5 separate regions of the Homo sapiens genome follow, and regions 2, 3, 4 and 5 are each linked to region 1. The links are contacts of gene promoters, found by promoter capture Hi-C in human tissues and cell types (Jung and others, 2019). All regions are on one chromosome and are shown on one strand. Each heading gives the region's core, a stretch centred on a gene start or on the middle of the fragment in contact. The rest is flanking DNA. Distances are from core to core; before and after follow the strand shown.

What was found. The method cuts DNA at HindIII sites, captures the fragments that hold promoters and counts their contacts. A contact is called where the count stands out against the background at its distance.
Region 2: a contact is called between the fragment with the promoter of GAA here and the fragment with the promoter of CHMP6 in region 1, in 1 of the 25 tissues and cell types used here (lymphoblastoid cells).
Region 3: the fragment with the promoter of RNF213 here is called in contact with the fragment with the promoter of CHMP6 in region 1 in 1 of the 25 tissues and cell types used here (heart left ventricle).
Region 4: a contact is called between a fragment that was not itself captured here and the fragment with the promoter of CHMP6 in region 1, in 1 of the 25 tissues and cell types used here (lymphoblastoid cells).
Region 5: a contact is called between a fragment that was not itself captured here and the fragment with the promoter of CHMP6 in region 1, in 1 of the 25 tissues and cell types used here (dorsolateral prefrontal cortex).

Annotation. Positions count from the first base shown.
Region 1 is chr17:80,990,529-80,993,160 of GRCh38, forward strand. CHMP6 (charged multivesicular body protein 6) reads left to right here and starts at 1,313. Exons shown (of 8, transcript NM_024591.5): 1 at 1,313-1,453. The coding sequence starts at 1,391. RefSeq lists silencers at 1,206-1,535, 1,666-1,815, 1,826-2,015. The HindIII fragment of the contact is 10,930 bases long and covers 698-2,632 here.
Region 2 is chr17:80,100,199-80,102,830 of GRCh38, forward strand. GAA (alpha glucosidase) reads left to right here and starts at 1,383. Exons shown (of 20, transcript NM_000152.5): 1 at 1,383-1,692. CCDC40 (coiled-coil domain 40 molecular ruler complex subunit) reads left to right here. Exons shown (of 20, transcript NM_017950.4): 20 at 1-415. RefSeq lists a silencer at 930-1,549 and an enhancer at 1,880-1,989. The HindIII fragment of the contact is 18,678 bases long and covers 1-2,632 here.
Region 3 is chr17:80,259,507-80,262,138 of GRCh38, forward strand. RNF213 (ring finger protein 213) reads left to right here and starts at 1,346. Exons shown (of 68, transcript NM_001256071.3): 1 at 1,346-1,396. RefSeq lists silencers at 725-1,074, 1,354-1,703, 2,084-2,223. The HindIII fragment of the contact is 8,363 bases long and covers 1-2,632 here.
Region 4 is chr17:80,370,424-80,373,055 of GRCh38, forward strand. It overlaps RNF213 (ring finger protein 213), which reads left to right. Exons shown (of 68, transcript NM_001256071.3): 47 at 1,451-1,562; 48 at 2,098-2,311; 49 at 2,552-2,632. The region is part of intron 1 of RNF213-AS1 (RNF213 antisense RNA 1); the gene reads right to left. Among named protein-coding and RNA genes, the nearest start is that of ENDOV, 43 kb to the right of the region's middle. RefSeq lists an enhancer at 1,345-2,544. The HindIII fragment of the contact is 5,086 bases long and covers 1-2,632 here.
Region 5 is chr17:81,503,871-81,506,502 of GRCh38, forward strand. No RefSeq gene overlaps it. Among named protein-coding and RNA genes, the nearest start is that of ACTG1, 7.6 kb to the right of the region's middle. The HindIII fragment of the contact is 9,311 bases long and covers 1-2,632 here.

The sequences.
Region 1 (2,632 bases), core at 63-2,562:
CCCCTTCATGAGGAGCAGGGAGTAGCAAGTCTTTTTTTTTTTTTTCCTCAACGTCCCCATGGACACCAAGGAAAAAAGTACTTCAGATGTCTTGGTGAGACAAATCAGAGGGTGGGAGATGAACCCCACAAAAATTCAGGGGCCCCCTCACCTCAGTGAAGGTTCTGGAGTCCAGAGGTTTGGAACAGGTGATAATTATTCTCCTTTTGATGTTATTTGTTATATTTTTTGTAGAGACGGGGGTCTTGCTATGTTGCCAGGCTGGTCTTGAACTCCTGGCCTCAAGCCATCCTCAGCTGAGTGCTTTTCTTTGACACTTAGTGAATGCTCAGGAACCACAGTCAGGATACTCAGGCGGGAACCGGGGTGGCTTCTCCCTTTTACCCTTTATCCCCATTCATGTGTTTCTTAGCCCCCCAGGGAAGAATGCTTCTGTGGGGGACGCAGCCACGATTCCTTGGAAGGAGAAGCTGAGCCCAGCCATGCTGGTCTCCTCCTGGCACTGATCTACAGACAGGGAGCAGCGCAGTGGAAGAGGGAAGATCCCAGGGCTGAAAGGCTGGGTGGAGGGCGCTGCTGGTCGCATTTCAGGGAACATTTTAAAGTGCAAAGCGGGCCGGGTGCGGCGGCTCACGCCTGTCATCCCAGCACTTTGGGAGCCCGAGGTGGGTGGATCAGAAGGTCAGGAGCTCAAGGCCAGCCTGGCCAATATGGTGAAACCCCGTCTCTACTAACAAACATTAGCCGGGTGTGGCAGCAGGCACCTGTAGTCCCAGCTACTCAGGAGGCTGAAGCAGGAAAATCACTTGAACCCGGGAGGCAGAGTTTGTAGTGAGCCGAGATAGCGCCCCTGCACTCCACCCTGGGCGACAGAGCAGGACTCCATCTAAAAAAAAAAAAAAAAAAAAAAGTGCAAAACGTTGGATATCACATCATTAATGCGGCATTTTGTGTTCAGAGCCAGTGGGACAGTGATTCCTGCACAAGATTCCTGAAAGCCTGGGGAGACTGAATTATGTTAATCTAAAAGGATCCCACCTAATTAGGAGATAAGAAATTTTTGCCTTCACCTGCACAGGAAGGGTGCACGGAAACACGTCATTTAGAACATCCCGGGCCCGAACATCGCGGGCCCTAACATCCAGGTATCCGTGCCACTTCTCCGTACCGGTCCAAGGAGGCCGCGGTGTTCGCGGCGGTCGCCGAGACCGGCGGGCTGTGGTTTCGAACCCGCGGCAACGGCGCGCGGCCGGAGGCGGCGCTCGGCCTTCGCGTTCCGCGGCGCCTGGCCCGGCGCGGCCGCCGTAGCGGGAGGACCCGAGCTACGGTGGCCGCGGGGCGGCGGTGGCGATTGGACTTGGTGGGTCCCGGGCCAGGGGCGGGCGCCGCCATGGGTAACCTGTTCGGCCGCAAGAAGCAGAGCCGCGTCACGGAGCAGGACAAGGCCATCCTGGTGAGGGCCCGGGCCCGGGGTCAGGGCTGGGGCCGGGACAGGCGACGGGGCCGGGGCGGGCGGCGGGGCCGGAAGAGCCCCGCGCCCTCGGCCCCCCGCGTTCGGATGGGGAAACTGAGGCGCAGCGCGCAGCCGGGCCCCTCGGTCTCTCCGCCCTGCGTCCCTCCTCGCCCGCGGGGCCTCGGGCCGGGGTCTCCTGCGCGGCGCCGTGGCTGCCGTCTTCCCCGGGGCCCGCGCGTCCGCCTCTGCGAGCCCCGCCGGGGTGGGCGCGGCTGGTGACTGCGGGATTCGACGCCGGCGTTCGGGGCTCGGCCACAGCCTGGCGGCCCGTCCGTGGGGTCCGCGCGGCGCTGGGCTTTCCCTGGCTCTGGGCCCGCGGGAGCAGGTCCCGGCTCTCCCGGAGTCGCTGCCCCCGCCCCCGTCCCGCGGCTCATTTGCCTCCTGGTGCCCTGGGCCGGAGCCCCGGCGGTGCTGCCGGCTTCGCGAGGCAGCGCGGGGCATCCCCTCTCCCTCACCCCATCCAGGCCAGGACTGGAAGGAAGTCTGCCCTGGTCCGAGGAGCGGCCGACAGGTGCGCCGAACGCCTGCCGGGGTCCTGCCGGGGTCCTGCCGGGCTTCCGCAGCGCCTGGGTACGGGACCACCGTGTTTGGCGCGTTTGTTTGCGGCGACTCCAGACTGACCCCCCGGGGCACAGCCGGGCCGGTGGTGGTGCCTTTTCCCATGTGAAAGTTAGCTTCTGTAGGAGGAGGAATCGCCTGGCATGTCAGGGACAGGGCGGGTTAAGAATAGTCCATTTTTGTAACGAGATAAACGTGTCACGAAAGAGACCCCGAAATGAAAGCAGGGCTAGCTTTTTCGGATGCTTTCTTTTCTAAATTTTGTGCAACAGAAATAGGTTAATTTTATACTAAAAGAGAAGCGAATGTAAATGAAAGAGGGAATCTTACGTTGGCATCTGAGTCCATAAGCTGTGAAAAGAAACAACGGGCACATTTGTCCCTAGAGAAGATGGGCACAGCGCTGGGCACCGTCCCGAGCTGCCTGCAAGACAGCTGGACCCAGCCTCCATCGTCCACCTTCCACCTACCCTGCCAGCCCCAAGGCACTCCCTCCCCTCTCTTTAAGGACTCAGCTCCGGTTTCTCTTCAAGCACAGCTTTCCACTTGCCAAGGGTCACT
Region 2 (2,632 bases), core at 133-2,632, 890 kb before region 1:
GTCCCCCCAGCACTTCCCTCTACTAGGTGCATCTGAAAACCCACAAACCACCTTCTTTACCAGTTTTCCCATCCCCACCCCTTAGAACTCTCAGGTCCCTTTTCCTGCCCCCATGTCCCCATTTGAGTTAAATTCAGATCCACAGCTTGCAGGAGAAAGTCAGTGGCCCCAGACACACGTAACAGGGTGAGCACTGAAATAAGAGCACGCTGGGGCGTCCACACCAAGGGACTACGCCCCAGTCTGCCCACCTATCTTTTCTCCATCATTAACCCAGCGCTCTTTCTCCCTGGACTTCCAAGTACCAATGACCTTGGGGCTTCTTTGCAGTTTAAAGGGAAAATGCTCTACAAAATAATTTCACTTTCAAACATTTCAGCAGAAGAATAAAATCTTTTTTCTGAATATCTAGTAAGCCTTTCTGAGTCAGCCTTACTTATTTTAAAACATTGTAGAAATACAGAAACCACAACAGAGGTGGAAGGGAGGCTTTTGTTTTTTTTTTTTTGAGACGGAGTCTCGCTCTGTCGCCCAGGCTGGAGTGCAGTGGCGCGGTCTCGGCTCGCTGCAAGCTGGAAAGGGGGCTTTTAATGCCCCTATGCCCCTACCCAGGAACAACACCTCTGTGTTTTGGTGTGGCTCCTTTTGTATTTTTCTGCACATACATTTTATTAGGCAAGTTAAGGTTATACTGTGTGTTTTTTGTATCTCACATGTAAAAATGTGCTCCTCTTAATGTAAGCATTTTCTCATTTTATGAAAAAATTCCCCCTGTGTCAGTTTAATGTTTTCTCAATTGTCAGTTTTATGGGTTATCACAATGTTTTGATTATTCCTTTCTGGAATAACTGTGAGTTATGGAGCACACTTAAGGACTTTCCAAATGTTGGCTGTTTCTAACTTGGCGCTGAGCGCCTTTGGCCGCCTTTCCGATGATGCCCTCGGGACGCGTTGGCAGGAGGAATCCCTGGGCGCAAGGCGCGGCTGGGCCAGCCCCTTACAAAGCCCTACGAGCTGCGGGGACCCAGGCCGGGGCAGCGGGGGCCACGCCCCATCTCCGACCCCACGGGGACCGGGCCGGGACTGCGCCAGCGGGGGCCTCGCCCCGTCTCTGACCCCAGAGGAACCGGCAGCGGGCAGCACGCGTGGGCCTCTCCCCGCGGGACGCCGGACGCGCAGCCAGACGCGCTCCCCAGGCCCCCTCCGAGAGCGAGGACGCGCCCAGGCCCGCTCTGCCGGAGCCGCCACTGGGGGGCGTAGCGCGGACGCGCACCCTTGCCTCGGGCGCCTGCGCGGGAGGCCGCGTCACGTGACCCACCGCGGCCCCGCCCCGCGACGAGCTCCCGCCGGTCACGTGACCCGCCTCTGCGCGCCCCCGGGCACGACCCCGGAGTCTCCGCGGGCGGCCAGGGCGCGCGTGCGCGGAGGTGAGCCGGGCCGGGGCTGCGGGGCTTCCCTGAGCGCGGGCCGGGTCGGTGGGGCGGTCGGCTGCCCGCGCGGCCTCTCAGTTGGGAAAGCTGAGGTTGTCGCCGGGGCCGCGGGTGGAGGTCGGGGATGAGGCAGCAGGTAGGACAGTGACCTCGGTGACGCGAAGGACCCCGGCCACCTCTAGGTTCTCCTCGTCCGCCCGTTGTTCAGCGAGGGAGGCTCTGCGCGTGCCGCAGCTGACGGGGAAACTGAGGCACGGAGCGGGTGAGACACCTGACGTCTGCCCCGCGCTGCCGGCGGTAACATCCCAGAAGCGGGTTTGAACGTGCCTAGCCGTGCCCCCAGCCTCTTCCCCTGAGCGGAGCTTGAGCCCCAGACCTCTAGTCCTCCCGGTCTTTATCTGAGTTCAGCTTAGAGATGAACGGGGAGCCGCCCTCCTGTGCTGGGCTTGGGGCTGGAGGCTGCATCTTCCCGTTTCTAGGGTTTCCTTTCCCCTTTTGATCGACGCAGTGCTCAGTCCTGGCCGGGACCCGAGCCACCTCTCCTGCTCCTGCAGGACGCACATGGCTGGGTCTGAATCCCTGGGGTGAGGAGCACCGTGGCCTGAGAGGGGGCCCCTGGGCCAGCTCTGAAATCTGAATGTCTCAATCACAAAGACCCCCTTAGGCCAGGCCAGGGGTGACTGTCTCTGGTCTTTGTCCCTGGTTGCTGGCACATAGCACCCGAAACCCTTGGAAACCGAGTGATGAGAGAGCCTTTTGCTCATGAGGTGACTGATGACCGGGGACACCAGGTGGCTTCAGGATGGAAGCAGATGGCCAGAAAGACCAAGGCCTGATGACGGGTTGGGATGGAAAAGGGGTGAGGGGCTGGAGATTGAGTGAATCACCAGTGGCTTAGTCAACCATGCCTGCACAATGGAACCCCGTAAGAAACCACAGGGATCAGAGGGCTTCCCGCCGGGTTGTGGAACACACCAAGGCACTGGAGGGTGGTGCGAGCAGAGAGCACAGCATCACTGCCCCCACCTCACACCAGGCCCTACGCATCTCTTCCATACGGCTGTCTGAGTTTTATCCTTTGTAATAAACCAGCAACTGTAAGAAACGCACTTTCCTGAGTTCTGTGACCCTGAAGAGGGAGTCCTGGGAACCTCTGAATTTATAACTAGTTGATCGAAAGTACAAGTGACAACCTGGGATTT
Region 3 (2,632 bases), core at 96-2,595, 730 kb before region 1:
AAAAATTTATCCTCAGGTTTTGTGTGTTTGTTAGTTTTTGAGGCAAGATCTCACTTTGTCATCCAGGCTGGAGTGCAGTGGTATGATCACGACTCACTGCAGCCTGGAGCTCCCTGGGCTCAAACGATCCTCTTGCCTCAGCCTCTTCAGGTGCACCACCACGCCCAGCTAATTTTTTTAAATGATTTTTTTTGTAGAGATGGGGTCTCTCTATGTTGCCCAGGCTGCCATCGAGTTCTTCTAGGGAAACTTGCCGTGGGCACCGTGGGGAGTGGGGTAAGGGCAGGGTCTGTGTCTTGTTCCCATGGCTGTCGTGGGCAGTTGTCGGTTAGGAGGGGTGGCTGTCGAGGATGTTGGACTAATTGTTGGCGACCCCCCGCCCCAAGCAGGAGCATTCAGCTGGGGTTCCGCGCCGGGAATTGTTTCAGGATGAGGGTCCCCTCTGGAATGCGCAGAGGGGCGCAGTGTCCAGAGAGGGACGGGATGAAGGGGTGAGAGGAGAAGGAAGAAAAAGAAAGTGGGTGATTTTAAAACGGAGGTCCCTGGTCACACCATGAGCCTCACAGATGGGAAAACTGAGGCACGGGGGATGGTGCGGACCGCCGTGGCCCCTCCATCATCAGTGACAGAGCGCTCCGCGCGGGGCCGCGGAGGTCCCTTAATCTGCAAAGGCCCCCACGCGGCGCGCTGACGACGTCCACTGCACCCGCCGGGCGCCCTCTGGGCCGCTCCCAGGCTGGCCGCCGGCTCTGCGCGGCCGCAGACACTGTCCGAGGTGCTGGGCGCCGGGGCGGGGGGCGCGCCTGTCCCGCCCCACTCGGCTGCTCGGGCCTGCCCGGGGTCTGGGCTTCCGGGAGACCCGCATGCGCCCCACGCCTGGCGGGAACCGAGGCCCCTCCCGCGTCTGTACCCGGCGCGCAGCGGCCCGAGGCGCCTCCCGGGGGCTGGGGGCCCGGAGTCACTGGGAGGCGCCACCGGCGGGGAATTCCGCACACGCCTGCGCGGGGCCGGCGGCGGCGGCGGGCAGGGCGGGGCCGGCGGCGGCGGCGGCGGGCAGGGCGGGGCCGGCGGCGGCGGCGGCGGGCAGGGCGGGGCCGGCGGCGGCGGCGGCGGGCAGGGCGGGGCCGGCGGCGGCGGCGGCGGGCAGGGCGGGGCCGGCGGCGGCGGCGGCGGGCAGGGCGGGGCCGGCGGCGGCGGCGGCGGGCAGGGCGGGGCCGGCGGCGGCGGCGGCGGGCAGGGCGGGGCCGGCGGCGGCGGCGGCGGGCAGGGCGGGGCCGGCGGCGGCGGCGGCGGGCAGGGCGGGGCCGGCGGCGGCGGCGGCGGGCAGGGCGGGGCCCAGGGCCCCGTGACCCGAGGGGCGACAGCGCGCGGCAGGCGGCGAGCTCGGGGGCCGCAGGTGCGAGCGGGCCTGGAGAGTCTCCCGGGGCGGGGAGCGGGCTAGGATACAGTGGGCCCCGCGGGCCGGCGGGCCGGGTCCCGGGGAGCGGCGCCTGCGTCCGGATGCCCCTCCCGGCCGCCTCTTCCTGCCGGCTCCAAGTTTCGGTTTCGCCGCCGGGGTGCCCGGTCCAGCCCCGCCCGCGGCGCCCACTGACCCTGTTCCCCGGCTGCGGGAGGGGTCGGGGTGGGGGCAGCGGGCACGCCTGGGACCCCGGCGACATCCCCGGAGCGCAGAGCGCGGAGGAGGCTTTGCGCCCCGGCAGTGCTGCCCCCGGGAAGTGGCCGGGGCACGGGGGGTGTAGTGGAAGGGGACAGCCGGACCCGGGCCTGCAGGTCCGCCCGGGAATCCTGCGCCTGTACGAATGGCAACAACGGAAAAGTGAAGTTGCAAAAACAGACTCCTAACTTTTACGAGGGAGGCATCGCCCCGTCTGAACCGCACCGCGCAGCGTCCTTCCGACTTGGCGAAGTCGCCCGAGCGCGGGGCTCAAGGCCAGGGTGGGCACCCCTCCCGGATGGCTGCCTGCAAGCCGGCGGGCCGGGCCCTGGGGGAGTCCAGGGCGGGAGGGGAAGGAGCTGTGCAAACATGGTGGTGGCCCTTCCCTGCCCCCACCTTGTTGACTTTGGTTGTGGTTGGGGGATGGGCTTTGATTTGGGTGGCAGTGTCTGTGCTTGGGAAAAAATGTCAGAGAAAAGACAGGAAGCGGATTGAATGCAACAGTGTTGGGTGCCTGGGGCTCTCTCTTGTGTCTTCCGGCCCCTAGAGCAGATGGAACAATAAGATGCTTTAGGGGGCCGGGCGCAGTGGCTAATGCCTGTAATCCCAAAACTTTGGGAGGCCAAGGCGGGTGGGTCACCTGAGGTCGGGAGTTCGAGACCAGCCTGGCCAACATGAAACCCCGTTTCTACTAAAAACACAAAAAATTAGCCGGGTGTGGTGGCGCATGCCTGTAACTCCACCTACTTGGGAGACTGAGGCGGGAGAATCGCTAGAGCCCGGGAGGCGGAGGTTGCAGTGAGCTGAGATTGCCCACTGTACTCCAGCCTGGGTGAAACTGTCAAACAAACAAAAAATGCTTTTTGGAGGATTTTTCGAGTTTTCTGGTCTGTGGTTCCCCAGTGTAGCATTGGAGAAGGAAACACTTCGGGTGGAAAGAAAGAGGCCTGGGCGGTGGGGAGTCATTGAAGGTGTTTG
Region 4 (2,632 bases), core at 34-2,533, 620 kb before region 1:
ATTACTAAGATAAATTTGCCCTTTTTTAAAAAACATGTTGATACTTATGATGATGTTACAAAAAGCGGTGATGAGTTAAACTGCTGGCCCCTCACGTGAAGACACAGTAGCTGGAGGTATTGTTTTCTTCACCGCCATGCACACGTGGTTTTCTTCATGCCAGTTTCATTTTAGTTTTACTAAATCTTGACTCTTGAGGATTTGACTTTTCAACGTTTTGTGGAAATGGGAAGCACACACAAAACACTCCCACTACACACCGGAGTAGACAGTTGCCTCACAGAAAATCACTCATGACAAGCCCTGGGTTATCAGCCGGCTGCTGTGTTCATGGACCGCCACCCGTGCTGGGAGGAAGGATGCACATGATACAGGTGTCCAGGGCTGGGCAGGCCTCTCCTGGAAATCAGCAAAGTGAGCCAGCCTCAGCCAAACAACTGACAATGTTGGTTGGTGATGATAACATTCAAGCTTTTAAGCTGAAATTAAAATTTTGAAAAGCTTATATTCTCCACTATGAGCTTGTGAGCTTTTGAATACTTAAAGACATTTTGGGGCAATTTGTGGTGATATTAATGAATATGGATTTTTTTTTTTAAAACGTAGAATACAAATGTGTCAACCTTTACAAGACCTGCACAGCCCAGTGAACCAATATTTTCCAAATGACCAATGCCTGATGTCATGAAATCATGTGGGTCAAAAAAGAAAAAAATCTATTTAAAGTATGGGCAGACCTTTTTGATTTTAACATAATTGACTGAAAAATGCACTGATACAGTTTCAGGCTCCACATTGCAACTAACCTCTAGACATGACCATTTATCACTGTGGGCACAGCATTAAGGAATAATAGCCACAATCAGCTGCAAAAACTATTAAAATGTTCCTCGCTATTCCGAGTATATGAGGACAGATTTTCTTCATGTTCTCCCATATGCTGCAGCGATGGGGAGCAGGGCAGGCAGGCCGCTGACTTCCAGGAGCCAGGCCCCAGGGCCAGCACAGGAATGGAAGACCAAACCACTCTTCTCACGGATTCATGTTTTGGAAAATATTTTAAATGTTATTTAACATGTAATAGCTTTATTGTTATTTTAAATGAATGTATATTTTTGAAACCTTTTGTTTTTAATGTCTCATAATTCCTAATATCATAAATATTGATAATATAACCCACATAAAAGCTCTTCGGGGTTCTCAATTTTTAAGACTATAAAGGGGTCCTGAAACCAAAGTTTGAGGACAGCTGGTCTAAAATGTGAGTTTTATATTCCTCCAGTATTATGCTAAAAGGTTTTCCATAAAATCTTAGAAACCACGTATATGTATGTATATGTTTATACACACACACACACAGGACAGACGACCGATAGATAGATGCTCTTTTTTTTAGTAAGGTATGTCTCCAGATCTGAGAGAACCAGGAATAATATTTCTCTTTCTGCAGCTTTCATGATGTAAAAGATTATATTCAGGAATATTTGACCCTGTTAAAAAAGAAAGCATTCATAACTGAAGATAAAACTGAACTGTACATGCTCTTCATCAACTGCCTGGAGGTAAGTGAACTCTCTCTTCCCTGAATTTCTTTTGGAAACTATCTGAACCACATGGTTTAAAATTTACAGAATATAATTTTAGTCAGTATAATTAACGAATGCTCTGTTCCGTGCAGAAAAGAAGAAAGGTTTCAAAGACGCGGCTTCTGCCTTCAGCAACGTATATTTTGGCATTTACTTGCATATACATACAAAACAGAACAGCCTAGGAGAATATACTGCCAAAGTTAACAGTGGTTATCATTGAGTGGGGACATTATGGATACTTTTTATCTTCATATTTTTATATCCAAAATTTTTATAATGTAAATAAATTAGATAATTTTTTTTCCTCATAGGTTCACTTTTCCCCTCCTTCTTGTCCTTAAAATAAAAAGGAATGTTAGGTTTCCATAAGTCAAGAAATTTACACTGAAACCTACAGTAACATTCTTCTATCCTTCCTTCTCCACAGTCACATTGGCGACTGTAGAAGCTTGGGGCATCCATGTTTAAAAAAATAATATCCTTTTCTTTCTTGTTCCTTGTTCCTCAGGATTCAATACTTGAGAAGACCAGTGCTTACTCCAGAAATGATGAACTGAACCACCTAGAAGAGGAAGGTCGTTTCCTTAAGGCATATTCTCCAGCAAGCCGGGGCCGAGAGCCTGCCAACGAGGCCTCGGTTGAATACCTGCAAGAGGTGGCCCGGATCCGCCTCTGCCTCGACAGAGCTGCAGATTTCCTCTCGGAGCCTGAGGGAGGCCCAGGCAAGTCTTCTCTGCCTTGCTTTCCTTTGGGTTTAAAGACTCCGTTATTTAGAAATTCAGGAAGTATGGGAAACTAGTTCTTCGAATAGACTACTACTGGGCTTTTCTACATCCCCTCTCCCCTGGATGTGTTTCTGTGAATGCCTGTGGGTAGGTCCGATGCCCTCTGGTTGGCCTTGTGTCCTACAATAAATGCCCTAAGTCACCAGCCACTCACCCGCTTTCTCGTTGGCCTCTCAGAGATGGCCAAGGAGAAGCAGTGCTACCTGCAGCAAGTCAAGCAGTTCTGTATCCGGGTGGAGAACGACTGGCACCGGGTGT
Region 5 (2,632 bases), core at 89-2,588, 510 kb after region 1:
GGAGGGAGGGAGGGAAAGAAAGAAGGGAAGGAAGGAAGGAAGGGAGAAGAAAGGGAGGGAGAAAGGGAAAGAAAAGAAGAAAAGAAAAGAAAAGGCCAGGTGCAGTGCCTCATGCCTGTAATCCCAGCACTTTGGAAGGCCAAGGTGGGCAGATCACCTGAGGTCAGAAGTTCAAGACCAGCCTGGCCAACCAACATGGTGAAACCCTGGCTCTACAGAAAATACAAAAATTAGTGGGGCATGGTGGTGGGCACCTATAATCCCAGCTACTTGGGAAGCTGAGGCAGGAGAATCGCTTGAACCCAGAAGGTGGAGGTTACAGTGAGCCGAGATCACACCACCGGACTCCAGTCTGGGCAACAAGAGCAAAACTCCATTAAAAAAAAGAAAGAAATAGGCCAGGCGCAGTGGCTCACGCCTGTAATCCCAGCACTCTGGGAGGCCGAGACAGGCAGATCACGAGGTCAGGAGATCAAGACCATCCTGGCTAACACGGTGAAATCCCATCTCTACTAAAAATACAAAAAAAAAATTAGCCAGGCGTGGTGGTGGGCGCCTATAGTCCCAGCTACTCAGGAGGCTGAGGCAGGAGAATTGCTGGAAACTGGAGGCGGAGGCCGCACTCCAGCGGCGAGAGAGTGAGACTCCATCAAAAAAGAAAGGGAGGGAGGGAAGGAGGGAAGGAGAGAAGGAGGGAGGGAGGGAGAGGAGGAGAGGAGAAAAGAGGGAGGGGAGGGGAGTGGAGGGGGAGAATAATTTGTAACCACTAATGAAATAGCAGGTCCTGGCAGGGATTTCCAATGGCTGCTAATATCACAACATCAGGCTCTGTGGGACTCTTTCCCTCTCCATGAAGTTGCACCCACCCTGTGGTCATCTTCTTGCTAAAAAAATCAACCTGAATGAGATTAAACAGACCAGTTTGGACATTTACACCTAGAGCTAACTGACTATAGGAAATATAAGGGTTGAGGAACGTGCCACATCAACCACAAGGACGAAATCAGCAAAATCCAGACAGGTGGAACCCTTTGGAACAAAAGACCTGCCTTCTTCCACAAATAACCTGAAAGGAGAAAAATGAAAGAGGGTAAATCCCGCGGTTAAAAGAGATTTAAGAGACATAGTGGCCAAGTGCAATGATTGGAAACCAACCGTTAAAAGAAATTTAGGTGGGTCGCGGTGGCTCACGCCTGTAATCCCAGCACTTTGGGGGGCCGAGGCGGGTGGATCACGAGGTCAGGAGATCGAGACCATCCTGGCCAACACGGTGAAACCCCGTCTCTACTAAAAATACAAAAAAAATACAAAAAAATACAAAAAAAATACCCCGTCTCTACTAAAAATACACCAGCCGGGCGTGGTGGTGGGCGCCTGTAGTCCCAGCTACTCGGGAGGCTGAGGCAGGAGAATGGCATGAACCCAGGAGGCGGAGCTTGCAGCGAGCCGAGATCACACCACTGCACTCCAGCCCGGGTGACAGAGTGAGACTCCGTCTCAAAAAAAAAAAAGAAAGAAATTTAAGGCTGGGCATGGTGGCTCACACCTGTAATCGCCACATTTTAGGAGGCTGAGGTGAGAGGATCTCTTGAGACCAGGAGCTTGAGACCAGCCTAAGCAACATAGGGAGACCCCATCTCTACAGAAAGTTTAAAAATTATCTGGGCATGGTGGTGCACGCCTGTAGTCCCAGCTACTCAAGCGGCTGAGGTGGGAGGATTGCTTGAGCCTAGGAAGTCGAGGCTGCAGTGAGCTGTGATTGTGCCACTGCACTCTAGCCTGGGCAACAAAGCAAGACCCTGTCCCCCCAAAAAAACAGACAAACAAAACAACAACAAAAAATTTAAGACAACCAAGGAAATTTGGACATTAGATGATACTAAGTATCGATCAATAATTGGTGGGTGGGGGCATGATACTGTGATTTTTTTTTTTTTTTTTTTTTTTTTGAGATAGAGTCTTGCTCTGTCACCCAGGCTGGAGTGCAGTGGCTCAATCTCGGCTCACTGCAACCTCTGCCATGTGGGTTCAAGCAATTCTCCTGCCTCAGCCTCTGGAATAGCTGGGATTACAGGCGCACGCCACCATGCCTGGCTAATTTTTGTATTTTTAGTAGAGATGGGTTTCACCATGTTGGCCAGGCTGGTCTTGAACTCCTGACCTCGTGATCCGCCCGTCTCGGCTTCCCAAAGTGGTGGGATTACAGGAATGAGCCACCGCGCCCAGCTTGTGGTTGTTTTTTCAAAAAGAGTCCTAGGCTGGGTGCAGTGGCTCATGCCTGTAATCCCAGCACTTTGGGAGGCCTAAGCAGGAGGACCATTGAGTCCAGGAGTTCAGCCTGGGCAACATAGTGAGATGCTGTCTCCAAAAAAAACACAAAAGCAAACAAACAAAAGGCCATGGAGGAGGCCAATCCCCAGCTGTGCTGAGCCAGGATCAGATTCTCTCAGCCCCTTTCAGCAGCACCTGTCCTCCTCTGAGTCAATATATTGCTGTTGCAGCCGGGCGCGGTGGCTCATGCCTGTAATCCCAGCACTTTGGGAGGCCGAGGTGGACGGATCACCTGAGGTCAGGAGTTTGAGACCAGACTGACCAACATGGAGAAACCCCATCTCTACCGAAAATACAAAAT